Regions from separate parts of the Homo sapiens genome. Here regions 1 and 3 are each linked to region 2. Evidence: promoter capture Hi-C in 16 types of primary human blood cells and fetal thymus (Javierre and others, 2016). All regions are on one chromosome and are shown on one strand. Each heading gives the region's core, a stretch centred on a gene start or on the middle of the fragment in contact. The rest is flanking DNA. Distances are from core to core; before and after follow the strand shown.

What was found. Contacts are between HindIII fragments. The CHiCAGO score rates a contact against its expected background, and 5 or more counts as called.
Region 1: a fragment that was not itself captured here is called in contact with the fragment with the promoter of LINC03068 in region 2 in 6 of 17 cell types (naive CD4 T cells, activated CD4 T cells, non-activated CD4 T cells and 3 more); the score reaches 11.0 in naive CD4 T cells.
Region 3: a fragment that was not itself captured here is called in contact with the fragment with the promoter of LINC03068 in region 2 in 2 of 17 cell types (non-activated CD4 T cells and activated CD4 T cells); the score reaches 7.3 in non-activated CD4 T cells.

What each region holds. Positions count from the first base shown.
Region 1 is chr10:132,178,238-132,181,761 of GRCh38, forward strand. All of the region lies in intron 23 of JAKMIP3 (Janus kinase and microtubule interacting protein 3), which reads left to right. JAKMIP3-AS1 (JAKMIP3 antisense RNA 1) reads right to left here. Exons shown (of 4, transcript NR_184044.1): 3 at 3,224-3,307; 4 at 1-803. Among named protein-coding and RNA genes, the nearest start is that of JAKMIP3-AS1, 6.8 kb to the right of the region's middle. The HindIII fragment of the contact is 8,704 bases long and covers 1-3,524 here.
Region 2 is chr10:132,442,645-132,446,319 of GRCh38, forward strand. LINC03068 (long intergenic non-protein coding RNA 3068) reads right to left here and starts at 2,338. Exons shown (of 3, transcript NR_184030.1): 1 at 2,128-2,338. It overlaps LINC02870 (long intergenic non-protein coding RNA 2870), which reads left to right and starts at 2,545. Exons shown (of 3, transcript NR_149317.1): 1 at 2,545-2,634; 2 at 3,052-3,135. RefSeq lists silencers at 1,085-1,134, 1,235-1,284. The HindIII fragment of the contact is 13,459 bases long and covers 1-3,675 here.
Region 3 is chr10:131,969,179-131,973,003 of GRCh38, forward strand. BNIP3 (BCL2 interacting protein 3) reads right to left here. Exons shown (of 6, transcript NM_004052.4): 4 at 1,686-1,792; 5 at 1,460-1,609. It also overlaps a transcript of PPP2R2D not described here. Among named protein-coding and RNA genes, the nearest start is that of BNIP3, 11 kb to the right of the region's middle. RefSeq lists an enhancer at 3,089-3,825. The HindIII fragment of the contact is 5,510 bases long and covers 1-3,825 here.

The DNA.
Region 1 (3,524 bases), core at 686-3,185, 260 kb before region 2:
GCTCCGCCGTGGTGGCTGGGGAGAGGATGACCTCAGAGGCGGCCCTGGGCAGACAGGGAGTTGATAACAGCACTGGTCCCCTCTGTAGAGTTGAGAGAGACCCCATGAAGGGGGTAGAGGAGGAAGAGGGAGGAGGAGGCACAGCCTGTGTCTGGGTAAGGTCTGTTTCATATTTTCCCCAAATCAGAGCTTCAAGAAAAAAATACCTTGACTGTGAGCAGAGTTAGTGGCTGCCATTTGTTTCTGTTTGGTTTGAAAATGTTTGGCTAAAGTTTCTCAGACAAAAGAGCATATGGGGAAAGGTCCTGTGCTTGGCCCTCACTCCATGTCCTATCAGCTGGGAATCTGTGTATTTGTGGGGCGGTGTTGGGGAAGAGCAAGGATCCAGACTGCAGGGTCTCACCCCCTCCCAAGCGGCTCACCCTGTGTGAGAACCCTGGGGTTGCTTGTCTCATGCACATTTTTGGAAACTGAGGCTGTAGGTCCCGAGCCTTCCAGTGGCATTCATCATCTGTTGATTCTGAAGCAGGCAGAGTTCCGGACCCCAGGAAGGTTCTTGTCTTCCTTGCCAACTGAGTTATGTTTCCAAACAGTTGAGATCCCAGTGGAAATTTCCAGCACACACAGACGGCAGGGGCCTGTTCCTCCGGCTCTGTTTTGACATCAATCAGAATGCTGTTTCCTGATCCATATGTACGACTACGTCTGCACGTGGTACCCATGGTGGTATTGATGAGGGTTCTGCCCTGCAGCTTTTAGCGAGGTTCTGGTGCCTTCGTGCCCGTGGGGCTGGGGGCCCCGACCTGTGGAAACACCCTGTGTCAGCCCTGGGTGGTGCCCCAGGCATGCTGCCATCTCCTGTCCCTGCTGCCGCCCTTGGCACTGTCCAATGAGCCAAGTTCATGATTGTGGTTGTCAACTTGTTCCTACACTTCATCAGCTATCCTCGTTGCAGCCCAAGATAAAATTACCCAGGCTTTCCCCTCCAGCGTGAAGGGCAGGGGCCCTCAGTGCTCATCCTCCCCCAGCATCATGCACGGTCACGGGGCTGTATTTGTTGACGGGACTTTTGGGCTCCCCGGGCTCTGAGCTGGTTGGGGCTCCACCTGCACTATGCCTGAGCTCCCCACATCCTACCTCTCTCCTGTCACTCGAAGCTCAGCCACCTGAGCAGCACTTTCCTGCCCCCTCCCTGAGAACTGGGAGCTCTTGGGATGAGGATTATCTGGGTTTCTCCCGCGGAACCCTTACTGTGGCACTGATACACTCACATAAACATTTGCCACGTGAATGGCCAAGTACGTAAAAGAATGCGCTCCCTGAAGGCAATTCGCAGCCCCATGTTCCCCCCACCCCCCACACTTCCAGGCAACAGTGAAAGCAGATGTTCTGGGGGTCCCCGAGACCACCTGCATCTCTGGGGACTCGCTAGGATTCACAGGACTCAGCACACAGTCACACCACAGCAGGGCCACACCACGGCAGGGTCGCACCACAGCAGGGTCACGCCACGGCAGGGTCACACCACAACAGCCACACCATGGCACAGCCACACCATTATCGCAGCCCTATAATCGGGAGGCATGGCTGGATCTGCAAGGGAAGAGTTCACAGGCACAGCCTGGAGAGGCCTGTGAGCAGACTTCCTGTGCTCTCTCCCCTCCCATGCTCTTCCCCCTGTGAGGTGCACACGGGGCACACACTCCCTCCAGCAGCAAAACACAGCCCCATATATGCAGTGTTTCTGCTCGGGAAATTCCAGCTAAGACCCAAAATTCATGGTTTTGATTTGGGGGCTACTCAGTTGTGCGCCCCCCACCCACTAACATGCCAGGCCCTCAAAAGGAAGGCTGGTGTTTGCCATGAATCACATTGTTTGCACAGTCTAGGCAGGAACCTCCTCACTAAAGGAATGCTTCGAAGCCAAGTTCCCAGACGCCAGCCAATGGCCACCGTTGCAAGCAGGCACTTCTGCAGCTAGCAGCCTCAGGCCTGTCCACAGAGACACTCTTGAGTGAGGACCCTGGGGTGCCAGAGCTTGCTTGGGGGCATTGAGGAGCCCCATGGAGCCACAGAGACCAAGGCCAGACCCATGGATGGCTGCCTCCCACCTGTCCTGTGCCTGACATGGCTCCAGTTTGGATGAGGTCCTCAGCTGACTGTGAGGGACAGTGCCCAGAAAGGGGAGGGTGGGTGGGAGGGAGAAGATCACGTTCCCTAGAAGAGACGGAACAGATGGGGTAGGGCGGGAGGGATTTGGGAAGACTGCAAACCTGGAAGCAGAACTGTGTGTGTGTGTGTGTGTGTGCGTGCGTGCATGCGTGTGTGTGCGTGTGTGTGTGCGTGCGCGTGTGTGTGTGCGTGCGCGTGTGTGTGTGCGTGTGTGTGCGTGTGTGCGTGCGTGTGTGCGTGTGCGTGTGCGTGTGTGCGTGTGTGTGCGCGCGCGTGTGTGTGCGTGCGTGTGTGTGTGCGCGTGTGTGTGCGTGTGTGTGCGTGTGTGCGTGCGTGCGCGCGCGTGTGTGCGTGTGTGTGCGTGTGTGTGTGTGCGCGTATGCATGTGCTGTGAGTGGTGTGTTGTGTATGCATGTGTGTATATATCGTGTGCATGTGTGTGCTGTGTGTGAGTGGTGTCTTTGGGCATGTGCATGTATGTGTATGTGTTGTGCATTGCATGTGCCTGTATGTGTATTTTGCATTGTGTGTACACATGTACAGTGCATTTGTGCGTATTGTGTGGGCATGTGTGTGTAGTGTATTGTGTGTACATGCATGTGCAGTGTGTATGTGCTGTTTGCACATGTGCAGGTATGTGTATTGTGCATTGTGTGTACGTGCACATGTAGTGTGTGTGTGTGAGTGGTATGTTGCGGCCATGGATGGGGCAGAAAGTCTCCTGTTCTGGAAATAGGGCAGTGAGTGGAGTGTGCTGACAATGGAGAGCAGCAGCTGGCTCTGGAGAGGGATCAAGTGACCACAGGAAACCAAATGCTCTGGTCTTGTTCCTTTAATTTGGGGAGTGAGTTTTTAAAATTCAGCATCATATTTTCAACAAGACCTCTGTTCTCTATTTGCATGTGCCTAGTTCATACTCCAGGCAGTTGATCACATAATTCAGAGAGGCATTGACAGGGTGGGAGTGTTTCTGGGTAGGTGTCCAGATCCCCGGCCCTTCTCAGCCTGGAAGTGTCACCGAGGGAAATCCCTGTTTTACATGGGGCTTCACCTTTTCCCTCTGTAAAATATGAGGGCTGGACTGGCAGGTCCCCTTCCTCCTGTACCTTCTAGAGATCGATGGTTCCGGGACAACCTATTTAGAAACGAACCCGATTAAAGGCACAAAGAACAAGGTACTATGTTAACTGCAGCAGAGATTTCAACTGTAACGCTTAATACGGGAAGAAGTAAACATGTATGTGTCATTTGACTACATTTATTTTTCATTCTGTTTGAGGTAATATCTTCTTACTTAGAAGTTAGGTTAAATCAAAAACCAAAAAGCTCTTCAGACCTCTCCTAGATTAGAA
Region 2 (3,675 bases), core at 1,088-3,587:
AGACTCTTCCTTAAGTGGGGTGGGACACATCCACAATAAAATGTTTAAAAAGAAGGAAAAGGACCAGGGCACTTCAGAAAAAATGAAGGAAGCCACATGGGAGACGTCACAAGGCATTGCCCACCCCTTGCCCACCCCGTGGGCTCCCAGCCAGCAGGCAGGGCAGGGTGCACACTTCCTCCTGCCTCCCCGAGGTCCCCGGGGCTGACCACAGGTTCACATGGGCAGCGAGGTGGTCGCAGGAGGACGGGGCCTGGAGATCCAGCCCCAGATGACACTGCAGGCCCCGGCAGGGGACGGTGCCACCCTCACCTCTGCCTTCTTGCCTCTGCTCTGCCTGGCCCATGGCTCTGTAGGCCTCCGTCCTCTAAGGACTCAAATTTTTTAATATAAAAATAAGTTGCAGGCCGGGTGTGGTGGCTCACACCTGTAATCCCAGCACTTTGGGAGGCCGAGGTGGGCAGATTACCTGAGGTCAGGAGTTCAAGACCAGACTGGCCAATATGGTGAAACCCTATCTCTACTAAAAACACAAAAATTAGCTGGACATGGTGGGGGACGCCTTTAGTCCCAGCTACTTGGGAGGCTGAGGTAGGAGAATTCCTTGAGCCCAGGAGACGGAGGTTGCAGTGAGCTGAGATCGTGCCACTGCACTCCAGCCTGGGCAACAGAGTGAGACTCTGTCTCAAATAAAATAAAATAAGGCCAGGTGCGGTGGCTCACGCCTGTAATCCCAGCACCTTGGGAGGCCAAGGCAGGTGGATCACGAGGTCAAGAGACTGAGACCATCCTGGCTAACACGGTGAAACCCCATCTCTACTAAAAATACAAAAAATTAGCCAGGCGTGGTGGCGGGCGCCTGTAGTCCCAGCTACTCGGGAGGCTGAGGCAGGAGAATGGCGTGAACCCGGGAGGCGGAGCTTGCAGTGAGCCGAGATCACGCCACTGCACTCCAGCCTGGGCGACAGAGCGAGACTCCGTCTCCAAAATAAATAAATAAATAAAATAAAATAAAATAAAAAGTTGCAGTGTCAGCAATGAGTTAGCTCTTTAATGGGGGCTTTTTTAAATGAATATTTCTCAGCTGTTGGTGAGCTCAGCTGAGGGAGGGCGGGCGCCACGGGTCCCTGACTCAGACCTGACTGTGGGGCTGGGACACGACTGCCCCTAGTGGGAGCAAGGCCCAACGGTTGGGGGGTGCCCAGCGCCCAGCCAGCAGCTGGGGTGTCTGTGGGGGCTCCCCCATCGCCCTCCCCTCCCCCTTCCCTTCCTTCCCTCTCCTCTCAACCCCCACTCCCCTCACACCTTCCCCTCCCCCTCACTCCTCTCCCCTCTCCTCAGGGCTCCCTGGCTTCCTGCCTCACCCTTCCCCTCCCCCCACTCCCCTTCCTCAGGGCTCCCTCCCCTCACTCCCTCCCCACTCACTCCCTCTCCCCTTCCTCAGGGCTCCCCGCCTCACTCCCTCCCTGCTCACTCCCCTCCCCTTCCTCAGGGCTCCCCACCCCCCCACTCCTCCTCCCCTCTCCTCAGGGCTCCCCCCCTCACTCCCACTCACTCTCCTCCCCTCTCCTCAGGGCTCCCTCCCTCCTCACTCCCTCCCCGCTCACTCCCCTCCCCTTCCTCAGGGCTCCCTCCCCCCTCACTCCCTCCCCCGCTCGCTCACTCCCTCTCGCCTCTCCTCAGGGCTCCCCGGCTTCCTGCCTCTCTGAATTCCTCCTCCAGACCCTCAAGGCTCCCTGCTCATTCCCTCTGGGGTCCTGAGGTCTCCAAGGGCCACTCTGGCTTCCCCCCTGCAGACCCACCCTCCTAGGGGAACAGGGTGACCCCACACAGACACTGATGGGACAAGAGAACCAGCCCTGCAGAAAGCCTCCAGGTGAGGCTGACAGTGCTGGTCCTGTGACGGGGAAGCAGGTGAGAGCCATCTCTGGCCTCAAGGCTGATCAGCAGCCCCCAAGGTGTCCTCTGCAGAGAGGGCCAGCCTCAGGCCTGCCACCCCGTAGACCACAGGGACCTGTCCTGAGATTCCTCCATTTCTGAGCACCAGCCTAGGAAATGATGGAGGGTCTGGCCCCCAGGCCCAGACCCCCAGGCCCCCTGCCCCCGTCTAGGTCCCCAGGTACTTGCAGAAAAGAAGGGGTGAGCACAGCCTTCTGTAAGGGGGCGCCCGAGTCCTGGCCAAGGTGGCCGCCCACCCTGGGGCTCCAAGGTCCAGGCAGCCACCTCTTCGGTCTCTGCCCTTAATGTGGGGCAGAGTGGCAGGTCAGAGCCCCGGCCCTGGCCCCGGCCCCAGCCCCAGCTCCTCCTCAGCCACAGGGGCATCTCCAATTCCTGAAATAATTCAGTTCCCTCTCCTGGGCACCTCTAGAGCCCAGCTGGGCCCAGGGTGTGTTCTGCAGTTGTGGGGGTGGGGGGGAGGATTTTGCAACCCTACCCTCTCTGCAGGGTACCTCCGGTGGCTCTGGCCTCTGGGCCCCATGCTGTGCCAGACACACAGAGAGGCTCAGCCAGTTATTTCCAAGAGGCCAGGCAGGCAGGAGAGGCCCAGGATCTGCCAGGACTGGGAAGGGAGGCAGGAGGCTTCTCTGGGTATAAAGCAGCTGAAATGTGGAGTTTCCTCCCAGGAGCTGAGAGGTAGCTGCAGGGCGAGCCCTGGGGGAAGTGTGCAGCCGCTGGAGCTCCGTCCTGGGCAGGGGTGGTCACGGCTTGAGGATGGCAAGGGCTGATGCCTTGTTTGCTTTTAAAATTGTTGCTATTTGCTGTAGTTCCCCTGTTATTCCTAAACTCTCAGGAAGCACCTACTGGCCTCAAGGTAGTCTCGCTTATGGGGCTGGGGATGAAGAAGAGTGGGGTGTGCAGGTGGGCAGAGCTCCAGCGGCAGGAGGCTGAGGGCGGGCTGGGGAGTAGCAGCAGGGGATGGGCACGAGGCCCCTTCGGTCCTCCTGCAGCTGTTTTAATGTGGCGTTTTGGAAAGAGCCGCACCCCGTGGGTGCCTATGGGAAGGAGGCGTCTTAGTCACATGCCCCTAACGATTGCGGCGTTTCTCTACAGCGTGTCCATGGGCCCAGTGCCTGGCGTGTCCTCCCTGGGAGCTTGCTGGACGCATGACCAGGATTCTGGGAGGGCAGAGGACAGGTGGGTCCTGGTGGTAGGTCAGCTGCTGAGTTTCCCTATGACGTTTGTTCCGCTGGTGCCCAGAGCCCCTTCAAGGTGTCCATCATCAGGGGAGAAGTGGCGCCACAAACTGCCTTTTAACCCTGGGGTCCTGCCAAGAGGTCTGGGGTGTCCTGGGGCCTGTGGCCTGGGCTGCAAGTGCAGCCAGTTCCCTCAGGGCATGGCCACCAGCCCTGGGCTCCCGTGCCCGGGTTTCCCTGCCTGCCTGGCTGGTCAGAGGAGGGAGTCCCTCTATCCACTCTGCCCCACATTAAGGGGAGAGACTGAAGAGGTGGCTGCCTGGACTGTGGAGCCCCAGGGTGGGCGGCCACCTTGGCCAGGACTCGGGCGCCCCCTTACAGAAGGCTGTGCTCACCCCTTCTTTTCTGCAAGTACCTGGGGACCTAGACGGGGGCAGGGGATGCCCAAAAGGGCCTAGACACCTTCCATGGCAGCCGCCATCACAGGGTCTGTGGGAGGGCGTGTCCTCCCTTCCGCAGGCCTGGTGGGCAGCGAGGCCGT
Region 3 (3,825 bases), core at 1,164-3,663, 470 kb before region 2:
AGCAGCTTTCGGGGCAGATTTTATCGTGTGGTTCTGAAAAGCAGCTGAGGGGGTGTGGGTCGCCAGTGGCAGCATCAGGCTCTGAAAACCCGGGCAGGACGAAGGACAGTAGCTGGGAAGTAGTGGCTGCAGAAATCCATCCTGAAACGAAGGGCTTAAACCTTGTATTTAAAATGAGGATCCCGAGGCCTTGCCCCCAGAGTCTGCTTGACAGTTCTGGAAAAGGCTCCAGAAAGCAAACTGCCTGGTGATGCTGATGCAGTCTGTAGGTCTGACTCCCAAAAGCACCAGCAGAAATGAAGGTGACGGGTTATGGGGGGGACGTGAGAATGTGCCCAAGAGCTAGGAGAAAGCCACGCACACGGGAGGGCGAGGTGGAGACACGGGCAGCGCTCAGGTCCCGGCCCAGGAAACTCAGTGGCTTTTATCCCGTTTCCTTCAACCCCAGATGTGAGCCCTCTGGCCAACCTACCTAACCCACCTGCCCCCAGTGGCATTCCGGTCTTTCCAGTCTGTCCAACACACGGCAGCCACAGAACACTGTCTGCACGCCAGGACTAGAGCCCTCCTCCCCGCTGAGAGGCTGGGACCAGCCCGAGGAGGAGCCGTTTTGGCTTCCCGCTCTGGCTCTTCACCACCGCTGCGGCGAACGCTCTTCAGAACCCACAGCGGCGCCTGCCTGGTCTCTGTGTTTTCTGCAGGGTGAGTGAGTATAAGCAGCCAGGAAAGGCCAGGCGCGGTGGCTCACGCCTGTAATCCCAGCACTTTGGAGGCCGAGGTGAGCCATCCCTTGAGTTCGAGATCAGCCTGGGCAACGTGGCGAAGCCCCGTCTCTATTAAAAATACAAAAATTAGCCAGGCCTGGTGGTGGGCACCTGTAATCCCAGCTACCCAGGAGGCTGAGGCAGGAGAGTCGCTTGAACCCAGGAGGCAGAGGCTGCAGTGAGCCGAGATCACGCCCCTGCACTCAGCCTGGGCAACAAGAGCGAAACTCAAGCCAGTAAAGTCGGAGACTGCATTGGTTCCTTCATTGCTGAGAGTTACTAGAACAACAGTCCTGTCTGGAGGAAGTACAGCAGGTAACTGAGACCCTCCACCTACAGCAGAGCTGGGTGCATTCCCGCCACAGTACTACACAGAAATGAGACTGCTTTCACCTACACACAGGACAAAGAGGTCAGACCTAAGAAGCCCTGCTTTGACTCCGTTTATATTCAGTGAGCAACAGGCAGACTCGTCAGGCCAGACAGCAGCACCACAGGGCGCCTGTGCTGGGGCCTTTGGGGGCTGCAGGCTGGTGGTTTCTGGACCTGAACAGTGACTACGTGGGTGTTTGTGAAAATGCACCAAGCTGTAACTGATGATCTGGACTTCAGGAAACAGGTTACGAATAAATCACTGCAACCCAGAATCGCCCCACGACATGCCATGACAGGAGTCACACAGTCACATCACCTACCCCAATCCGATGGCCAGCAAATGAGAGAGCAGCAGAGATGGAAGGAAAACTTTCAGAAATTCTGCAGAGAATATGCCCCCTTTCTTCATGACGCTCGTGTTCCTCATGCTGAGGGTGGCCGTGCGCTTCGGGTGTTTAAAGAGGAACTCCCTGAGGCGGGAAGAAACGTGTCAGCTGATGTGTCCTCTGTCAAGGGGTGCCCCCGTGACACTGAGAACACACTCACTTGGGGGGAATATTTTCCGGCCGACTTGACCAATCCCATATCCAATCTGAGTTTTTCTTCAAGATGCTTTCAACTTCTTTCCTTCTTTCAATATCATCTTCCTCAGACTAAGATAAAGTCAATGTTAAAGGCAGATCAGTGTACCACACGTGACACGGGAAAGCACCCAGCTCCCACCCGAGCTTCAGATCCGCAGGCTCAATTCAAGAGCCCAGAGGCACATGTCAGTGCCTCGGACCGTGGTCCAAGGGGAGTCCTGGGGCTGGGGGCCTTCCCCGGGCCGCGCCGCACTCCCGGCTCACAGCACGCTCGCCGCCTCCAGGGACAGATCACCTCTGGGGGAGCCCCACTCAGGGCGTAAATACATTTGGTTCACTGTGAGATTCTGGGGGTACTGACAGCGGCAAACACTGTCCTAGGGAAGTCACGTGACATGAGGGCAAAGATGGTGACGGCAGCACTGGTTATAAGAAAAGAAAATGAAAACAGCCGAAAACGGCTCAAAACAGGGACATGACGAAGGAAGGGACACTGTATAGTGAGCAGGTTTACAAGATGCTTCCGGGATAAGCAGGAGGGAAAAGGCAGAAATGTCCACATAACCACAGCTGCGGCCAAATCCTCAGAATTATATAACAGCACGAAACATTAAAGAGGATTTTAAATCTGAGAGTCTAAGTGTTTTTCTCTACTTTTTTGCATTTTCAAAATTCTGTACCTGAACATCTAATTCCTTTTAAAACTAGGGGAAGTTTTGTGTAAAACAGTGAAAACGGCAAGACCCTGTCTCAAAAAAAAAGAAATAAAATTGAAAATACTCAAGAATATAGCTCCCCAAACCCACCAAACATCTGGGTACACCCAAGCTGGGTACAGCCCCAAGTGCCCAGGAGCAGGCCGCACGCCCTGGATGCACCCACACACCCACAGCCAGGGCTCCTGGGGCTCCCGAAATCATGCTGCCCCTCGGAGTGGGGCCAGGGGATGTCCCTGAGAAAGCCTGGGTAACAGGGACTCCTTGTTTCCTTGGTGAAGAAAGCCTTGAGGGAAGCGCTAGCACGGAAGGGTCAGCTACTAACCCTGCCTGGAAGGCCATGCTTCCTCACAGAGCTTCCAAAATACAGAACACAGTCCGTCGTCAAAGTTCTCACCAGCAACGAACACCCAAGAAAACACATCGCGCATCTCATCTGCAGCAAGGTAAGGCACTGCCAGATATAACTGAGCAAGACAGTACTGATCACTGCCTCGAACCCTATCTGTGCCGGAGTAGGAAGGGAGAACGATAGTACACCAAGGCAATAACCCCAGGTACACTTTTTCCTCTAAGACTCACTCCGCTTTCACAACAATGCTGAAGGCCGCTCTGTAAAGCCCATTCAATAGCTGTTAACAGAAAAGTCATCTTAGGCTGGACACAGTATCTCACACCTATAGTCCCAGTATTTTGGGAGGATCACTTGAGCCCTGGAGTTCAAGACCACCCTGGGCAACACAGGGAGACCCCGTCTCTACAAAAAAAACTTTTTTAAAAAAGAAGAAAAAGTGATCTTACACTAAATTATCAGGCTGATCAGCCGCTAATGCTACACTGCTCCGGCACCAGTTAGCTCAGGACTAATGCTAGGAAAGGCACAGGGTGTAATTTCCGGCAGGTAGTGAGTGTCTAATGAGGAAGACACCTCAGAGTCACAGCCACAGTGGCCACATGGCCTTAGATGGCCCCGTGGGTAACTCCTGAGTCCCACACAGCATGCAAATATTAAAACCCACTCACTGTCCAACCAGCAACCACGAGGAAAGACCAGCCAGTAGCTGGCTCACTGCCACCCCTTCCAATGGTCCCTCCCTCCTCTCTAGGCTGCAGCCACCAGGGAGCCCTTCCTCCTTTCCGGTGTATCCCTGATGGCAGGCAGGGAGGGACAGGAGGCCCCCGCTGCCTGTCCCACTCGGCGCCTCCCCCGCTCAGCTGAGTGTCCAGCCCATGTGCTTGTGGATGTTCCCACCCACAGTTTCTTGGTTTTTTTGTTTCGCTTTTTTGTTTTTTTTAAAGCAGGAAACACCCTTAAAGCCCGACTTTTCTCTGAGGTGCTCAATTACATTTAAAACCGTTTCCTGTACAAACAGATCACAAATACTT